Linked DNA regions of Homo sapiens: region 2 is linked to region 1. The links are contacts of gene promoters, found by promoter capture Hi-C in blood cells and fetal thymus (Javierre and others, 2016). All regions are on one chromosome and are shown on one strand. Each heading gives the region's core, a stretch centred on a gene start or on the middle of the fragment in contact. The rest is flanking DNA. Distances are from core to core; before and after follow the strand shown.

The links. The method cuts DNA at HindIII sites, captures the fragments that hold promoters and counts their contacts. A CHiCAGO score of 5 or more calls a contact.
Region 2: a contact is called between the fragment with the promoter of ACVR2A here and the fragment with the promoter of RBM43 in region 1, in 1 of 17 cell types (total B cells). The highest score is 5.2, in total B cells.

The regions. Positions count from the first base shown.
Region 1 is chr2:151,259,897-151,264,215 of GRCh38, forward strand. RBM43 (RNA binding motif protein 43) reads right to left here and starts at 1,967. Exons shown (of 4, transcript NM_198557.3): 1 at 1,829-1,967. The coding sequence starts at 1,831. RefSeq lists a silencer at 1,511-1,780 and an enhancer at 1,821-2,050. The HindIII fragment of the contact is 8,034 bases long and covers 1-4,319 here.
Region 2 is chr2:147,842,982-147,847,300 of GRCh38, forward strand. ACVR2A (activin A receptor type 2A) reads left to right here and starts at 2,048. Exons shown (of 11, transcript NM_001616.5): 1 at 2,048-2,226. The coding sequence starts at 2,172. RefSeq lists an enhancer at 398-1,148 and silencers at 1,275-1,464, 1,545-1,654, 2,410-2,489. The HindIII fragment of the contact is 3,923 bases long and covers 1-3,272 here.

The DNA of each region.
Region 1 (4,319 bases), core at 717-3,216:
GCTCTGTCACCTACGCTGGAGTGCAGTGGCGCGATCTTGGCTCACTGCAACCTCCACCTCCCGGGTTCAAGCGATTCTCCTGCCCCAGCCTCCTGAGTAGCTGGGACTACAGGCATCAGCCACCATGCCCGACTAATTTTTGTATTTTTAGTAGAGATGGGGTTTCACCATGTTGACCAGGCTGGTCTCAAACTCCTGACCTCGTGATCCGCTCCCCCCTCGGCCTCTCGAAGTCTTTTTTTTTTTTTAGACAGCGCCTCGCTCTGTTGCCCAGGCTGGAGAACAATGGCGTGATCTTGGCTCCCTGCAACCTCCGCCTCCTGGGCTCAAGTGATCCTCCCACCTCAGCCTCCCCAGTAGCTGAGACTACAGGTGGATGCCATCACGCCCAGCTAATTTTTGTATTTTTAGTAGAGACTCCTGACCTCAAGTGATCCGCCCTCCTTCGCCTCCCAAAGTGCTGGGATTACAGGCGTGAGCCACCGTGCCGGGCAGGGAGATCATTTTCTGCACCCCAACAATATCAAAGAAAAACATGCAATCAATTTAAACTCAGGAAATCTTACTTCAGCTCTATGCCCTCATTAGTACTAATACCATATTTCTTTATTCGAATGTCTACTGGTAATTTATCTTTAAAATCAAAGAAACTTCTCCCTGAACCAGTATTTTTAGAAGAAAAAAACATAAAGATGTAAATTTTGTTTGGTAAGAACTAGTTTCTATGAATCATCTAATGAATTAGTACTTCAATGACTTGCCAATATTTGTCCTTAACTCCCTTTCATAGGTTGGAGAAAGTATGGCTAACATAGATAATTTTACTGAGGTCAATTATGAATAATGAGGGTTGTTCATCTCTTCTACCCACGATTAAGATAAAGAAATGCCTAGAGAAAGACAGTCCTTTCAAGGACTTTGAAACGAGCAGCTTTTAGCCAAGACATACTAACGTGATGGCGCATTTCCTTGCATCAGTATTGTGTTATAACAGACTTGGCCATCTTATCAGAAAGCAAAAAGTATATAGCAAAACTTTACTTTTGTAAGTAAGGCATTGGGAAGAAACAGAAGATTCATTGACTGCATTTGTTTATATTGATTTTCTCAAAATCAGTTGTTTATTTTCAATGACGACGCCTCTACCGCCACCAGGTCAACAAAAACGTACTTGCTTTTGCATTTCCGGGACTCTAGCATTTCAGAGCAGGAATTAAAGGCCTTGCCAAGGCTTTTAAGCGATTGATGGAAACAAAACAAAACACAGAAGGATAAATTTTGAATTTGCTAAGACAAGAATTCGCACCAAGGCAGACATAAGACATGAGGATGTCTTCCTGACTTGCGTCCTTGGCTCGAATCGTTCTTATTAGCCCTTTTCAAAAGGCAGCTGTGACCTCCATTTCTGGCTAATCAGGCCACTTTTGTTCCCCCCGAGGCGTGGGAGGACAACAGTTAAGCCCTAACAGCCTGCGAAGCAGCTCCTCGACGAACGGCGGCGTCCCCGTCGCCTGGGCAGTGGGTGTGGGAGGTGACAGCCTAGTCCTGAGCCTCTGGAGCGGGCCTATACTGCACCGCCGTACGTGAATTTCAGGAGCGCGCAATGCCGCCACCTGGGAAGGGTGCAGCGAGGCTGACCTGAGTTTGCCCGCCGGGGTGGACGGCTCTCCGGGGCCCCCGGGGTCCCTGGGGCCCCTCCGTGCGCCGCCCCCTCCCGCGCAGCCCTGCACCCTGGCCCGTCGCGCCCGGTTCCGCGCCCTTCTAGGGGACCATGGCGACGGTACAGGCACGGACCTGCACCGCAAAACCCAAAGCAAAAGCAACTTGCCATGGCGGAGGGGAGACGCGCCCTCAGCGGCCGCAGAAAGCCCACAACCAGCGGAACGCAGGCGATGGGGAGAGGAGCGAGCAGGCAGGTTTTGGTTTCGTTTTTTGTTCCAGCTCCCTTGGAGGCTACGAAGAAAAGGGCGGTCCTTCCACCCGATCCGGCTGTTCTGCGACCTCGTGGCCTCTGAGTGGGAGCTCGGACTCAGGAGTGCTGTTGCCAGCGCCTGCCCAGACGCCCTCCGTAGTTTTGCAACTTGTGGAAGCACTCTGGAGAGAGGCCGAGAGGATTCCTCGACAGGAAATTTGGGAATTCTCTGGGTGATGCATCAGTGATTGCAATTTTGTTTTTACCCGTTTTGCTAAGCAGCAGCAACAACGGCAGAGTTGATTTAAAAAAAGAAAAAACGCAAAAAGGGAAAACACATAGTAGGTGGTGGCCGCTTCCTGTGTTGATACTGGGGGGCTACGCTTTTCCTAACATCAATCATCTCGTAGTTGCAGAGAGCCCTAGATGTCATGATAGTTTTGAATCGCATGCATTATCATGTAAGGGAGTTAAATATCTTGCATGCATGCTCTCTTCTGTGTTTATATATTCGATGCCATGAAATTGAAGGGCATGTGGCTAAAACCTTTTTACTACATGAAACTTTACAACACTTTTGAAAACATTTCAATTTGGTTGATGCGCACTGTAATATTTCTCCAGATAACTGTCCAAAATTTTCCATGGAGAAGGCTTTTATCCTCATTAGTTGCTGGCCTCAAACTAACCATCTAGGATATTAAACTTCTGCCAGAATTTTACATCCAGCTACCTTTACTTTTTAGAACGTATTCTCTATCATGTTATTGATATCAATTTCTACTTCACACAGATGGTTTTTTACAACAGCAAATCAAGTTTTTCTAACATCAGTTTTAAAAAGCCCTGCACTCAGTGAAATCTGGATGTCTTTCCTACGCCCTTATTATCTGTCCAGACTTCTTCCCCTTCCCCCACCGCTCACCTGGGCCTTTTCCTCTGCACAACCTACCCCAGTTCCCCAACCCCCACCTCAACCCCCAACGCCGTGTTGGTCACCTTCCCAGCCCAGACCAGGAGCCCTCTTGGACCTCTGCCGGGTGCTAAGGACACAGGATGAGAGCGCCAGGTCCCTGCCAGCAGAGAGCTCACCACCTTGTCCATGCCTTAGCACAGGAACCCCGAATGGCGCCTGTGGGGACACAGGGAATCTCTGGACAAACTTCAAAATCAAATCAATGAATGCATGAAGAACAAAGGTAGATGGCTAGCAGATATGAAGAAACCCAATCCCACTCCTAAGAAATGTAAATTGAAATAATAAGATACCATTTTTCACAACTAGATCTGCAAAACCAGAAAGTGTTAGCCTGAATGTAAGCATCAGAGTTGCTGCAAGCATAGATGGATGCAAATACTTCTAAAGATTTTTATCAAAATGTAAAGTGCAAAAAAATGTAAAATGCACATATTCTTAGTCTCAGCAATTCTACTTTTAGAACTGAACTTGAAGTTATAGTGCGCAAATGGCACTAAGATATTGTATAGAAATTTTAGTTGTACATTGCTTGAAATACAGGTAGTAATAATTTTTTTATAAACTGGGATCCACCTAGTTTATCATTGGATGGAGCTATTTGTTATACGGCTGATGATATATCAGTAAGGCACAAGGCTATGAAGATTTTAAAACAGAATGAGGTAGGGGGAAGTGGCTCCCGCCTGTATTCCCAGAACTTTGGGAGGCCAAGGTGGGCGGATCATTTTGAGCTCAGGAATTCAAGACCAGCTTGAGCAACATGGTGAAACCCGTCTGTACTAAAAATACAAAAATTAGCCGGGCGTGGTGGCACACACCTGTAATCTCAGCTACTCGGGAGGCTGAGGCTAGAGAATCGCTTGAACCCGGGAGGCAGAGTGAGCCAAGATCACACCACTGCACTCCAGCCTGGGCGAGAGAACAAGACTCTATCTCAAGAAGGAAAAAAAAAAAAAACAGCATGAGGTAGATCTGTATGTAATTCCCCAATTTATATTTTATCTCCAGATTTATATATCTAAGTGCCCACTTGAATGTCAAACAAGCATCTGAAATTTAACAAGTAGAACTCCAGAGCAAGACTCTGTCTCAAGAAAAAAAAAAAAAAACAGAATGAGGTACATCTGTATGTAATTCCCCAATTTATATTTTATCTCCAGATTTTATATATCTAAGTGCCTACTTGAATGTCAAACAAGCATCTGAATTTAACAAGGAGAACCCTTCTTCTCCCCTTCTTAATTCCCTCTCAAGAATTGGCAGCACTGTCTACCCATGAGCTCAAGCTCATGACCCAGTTCTTGATTTCTCTTTTCCTCATCCTTCTTAGTATACCCCAACAATGGGCCTTCCAGAGGGACCCAGTATCAGTCCCTCTTTCCAGCTGCATCCCTACCATCCTCATCCAGTCTCCATCCTCTCTAGCTC
Region 2 (4,319 bases), core at 798-3,297, 3.4 Mb before region 1:
AAAGAGCCACGTTGATTATTAATAACCCTGATAAGTTGTAGAAATGGGCAGATAATTACAGGATGAACTTAATAGACAGAAATACAGAGTAATTTAGAGGAAGTAAACTGCTGTAAATATAAGTGAGAAGACTTGGCTTTGTGGGAAAAGGTGGGAATCAGTAAACCACAAATGAAACATGAATTAGCCATATTATACAGTTGTTTTATTAAAAACCAAAACTTTGTAGAGTACATTAACAGAGACTGTATTTAAGAGAAAGGCAGTCATCCCTTAGTCATTTATACAATTATTTATTAAGCACTTATGTGCTAGTTGATACTTCTGGGTGCTGGAATAAAATAAGGAAAAAATCAAGATCTCTACCTTCACGAAGCTCACTAAAGTGTGGTAAATGACAGAGCAACTACCTTCAATAGTCTCTAGTTTGTATTCTGCAACCAACTGAATACAGCAAATACTAAAAGCTACTTGAGGTAGGGATCCATCCTATTTTTACCTGTTGGATCCCATTCCGTGCCTAGCACACCAGCTTGTAAGCAATCGACATGGATTAAGGGGTAAAAACAGGCCCTTAAATAGCTAAAATTTTGACAAGTAATCACTTGTCTGATCATCAAATATGTCGTTCGAAATCCTCATTTTTTTCTTCAAAGCGCAGTAAACAAGTATTTGCGCACCTATTACGTGCAAAACAGTTTTCAACACAATGCTTTGTGTGTAAAAGGAACGGCGGGAATGGATTCAAGTTGCGCATCGTGATAAATGGCGTGAATATCCTGAGCGGGTGGACAGCCCTTCCTCCGTGAGTTTTTTCTTTTTCTTTTCTAGTCACCAAGACAGCACGCGTGTGCAGAAGCTGCAGCGGTGGGACGCAGTGCTAAGTCTGGGGGCGCACACACCAGCTCGCGCGTCGCGAGCTCGCCTGGGCAGCTCGGCGGGCGCGGCGAAACAGCTCCCACGTCCGCCTTCCACCGACTCCTCGGTATCAGAGCGGACGAGGCGTCCCCCCAGAGGAAAGACTGGGCGCCGCAGACGCCCCTTGGAGAAGTCCCTGGCCACTCGCCCCACCTCGGGGTCCTCTTCCTCTTGGGCTTCTCCTGACCCTTTGGGTGGGCGCTCCAGACAGGCCCGTCGGACGCGATTTGGAAACGGGTCGTGCCCGGCCTAGCCCGCATCTACTCGCCCGGCCACAGCCCAGCCACAGCTTAGGGACTTTGAGGCGCCCGCGCCCCTTTGTCGCGGTATCTCTAGCCCAAGCAGGCCGGACGCCGAGGCCTCGCGGTATCGAGCCTCCGTCCGCCCCGCCTCCTCGCCCTCCACTCCGCCCCGCCCTCGCTCTCTCACCCCTCCCCCGCTCCCGCCTCGCTTCCCCGACAATCTCCTCGCGCTCCCGGCCCGGCACGCGCGCTGCGCCCGGCCGCCGCTGCCGCCGCCGCCGCCGCCGCCGCTGCCGCCGAGCGTTCCTCCGCTGCGCCTGGCTTCCAGCTTCGGGCCGGAACCGGAAGTTTGGGGGGCGGAGCCCGGCGGAGGCCAGGAGACCGAAAACGCGGCCGAGCCCGGAGCCCGGAGCTGGAGCCAGAGCCTGGACCAGAACTTGGCCGCCGCCTGCACCGCCGCCGCCGCTGCCGCCCGCCGCCCCTTCCCCGCGCCGCAGCCGCCTCGCCGCCACCGCCGCGAGCTCGGCCGCCAGTGGTCCTCGGACTTTAGGTGTCTGGGTTGAAGGTCGGTCCGGACATCGGACCCAGTCAGTTCCCAGACTGTCCGGGCGGCAGCGGACGCCGCTGCCGCCGCCGCCTCTTCGTCGCCTCAGCCTGGCGTTTTGTTCCGAGAGACGGGAGAGGCGAGCGGAGCTGACAGTGATTTTGACAGTGATTTAAACCCGCTTTTGTTGTTGTTGGCTTTTCGTTGTTTGGTTTTGTGTGTTGTGCGTGTGTGTGGCGGTTTTTCCCCCGTGGTGCATTTTATTTTTTATCGTTGTGCTCTTTTTTTTCTTTTTTTTTTTTAACCCAGTGAGCGTTTTTTTTTTTTTTTTTTTTTTTTTTTGGTCTGGGCTTCCGAATATGTTTTATGACGGTTGATTTTACACCAGGAGGTTTGTCTCCGAGGAAGACCCAGGGAACTGGATATCTAGCGAGAACTTCCTCCGGATTCCCCGGCGCCTCGGGAAAATGGGAGCTGCTGCAAAGTTGGCGTTTGCCGTCTTTCTTATCTCCTGTTCTTCAGGTAGGTGCAGGGAGCGCGGCGCGGTGGGGCTGCTCCTGCGGCCGCGGCGGCCGCTGCTGGGGGCCGCGGCTGGTGTTGAGTCGGAGAGTCCAGTGGAGCCTGGGGAGGTTGCCCACTCCCTGCGCCCCTCGGCTGCCACCGCCCCCCCCCCCCGCCCCCAGGTCTGATTGTGATCTGGAAACCTCCATGCATTTTTCTCTTTTTGAGTTGGGTCGGCGAGCTGATAAGAGTGAGTGCTGTGTTGTTGTGGAAGTGAGAAAGTCATGTTTTGTGGCCATAACACTGGATGACAGCGCTGGTTGGGTTGCAATTAAGCCGCAAATACCACAAGTGACAATTTATGCAAAGGTTGAGATCTGAAAGGAGTATTTAGTGTGGGCTCCTCCAAAACAAGGGTTGCTTTTTGTCATCGTTTAATTAGTGCTTCACCGGTGAATATCACGACATAGATCAAGCCAGTTGCTGCTTAATTTTGGCTGTGGGAAACAATACATCCTATCAGCAATTTAATCTGGGTCTCCCCTCACGTTTTCTTCAACTTCAGCGTCCAGCAGTGTTAAAAATAGTTGTAGTTGTTGTTGGAGTATTAACTATAACCCAGTGCAGAAGAGGTATGCCGCTTGGTATTGGTAATGTGCTGGCGTTCAACCACCATTTGTGTGCTCTTTTGGGGCATAGATTTTGCTTACCTACGGAATACTTATTTTAAACGCTTTGTATTGAAGCATTGTTTTCGGTTTAGAACAACCCATGTGAAATTGTTTTTGTTAAATATAGTACACTCATAAAATAGGTTTTAGCTCAAGGTTGGGGGAATAAACGGGCCATTTTATATTGGAAATTTTGATTTTGTGAGGACGTTCTATGGTTGCAACCAGTGGTTGGAAAAACTATCTAGTCTTTTGTATTTGAAATTCTATAAATAAATACAGCATCTAGCTGAAAGGTGTGCAGATGTACATAACAGGAGAGTTAGTTCAATAGATGAAACATTTTAAATAAGTCTCATTGGATCTATTTATTGTAAAATTTAATATTCAGTTACAAGCTTGTGGCATAGAATTACGGGGGACTCTTGGAAACGGGGGCGAATTGACAGGTTTCATGGCCATGTCTTTATCTCGTTTGCCACAGGAAAATTAAAGGGTGGTAGTCTTCTTTGTGTACCTCTGTGGGGTGTGTGTGTGTGTGTTTGTGTGTTTGTGTCCGTCTTCCCCACCCCCCTTTAAATATAATCTTTTGTAATGTATAGAATTTTGCTGAATGGTACATTTCCTTGTGGTTAATAAATGGATAAAGTCTAGTCTTATGTCTGTAGTGGTATTGATCAGTTCCGGGTGGGCTGAATGTGTTGTGAAATGGCGATCATTGCCAGAGATTAACCAAAAGAATCATGTCTGTTTAAATGGAAGAAGGAACATGCTTAAGGCAGGCTGACAGTTCTTTTTGTGCACGGTTTGGGAAGGAAGCTAAACAATGGTGTGTCTGAAATGAATGAAGGCCTTGATAACATTAAACCTCTTGCTTTTGTGACATGACTTAACCATGTAGTTTTTATCTTTCCAGTAGTACTCTTTTTTCCTCTGCTTCTATATGTTGTGGCTGGTGAACTCCTCTTGTTCAAATCCCTTGTTCTGATCTCTTGCCCTTGAGGAGGAGGGGCATCATGGCCACTGACCAAGGAATTGTGGACATTATTCCCTCTCAAACCCACCTGAGTCACACTAATTGATGAAGGAGGTTATTCTTGAGCAGTCTCAAGGTATTACTTCTTGAAAAGCAGGCTGTCGCTACAGATCTTACAGCTTCTTCTGCTTGGTTTGGTAGTAAAAATAATTGAGCATTAGTTTCTTGTGGGATTATTTTCATTGGGCCAGGATTATTTTCAGTGGGCCAGGAGGTTAATAGCTATAATTTTGAAATAAAGTGATTTTGTTGCTGTAGGGCATATAGATATTCCACTTATATTAAACTAATATTATGTTGTTGCATAGGCTTTTTAAGATGAACATTCCCAGTTGAACTAAAATATGTGATTCTGTTGAAGATAATTGAAATAATCATAAAGACCTTAATCCATATTTATACATGAA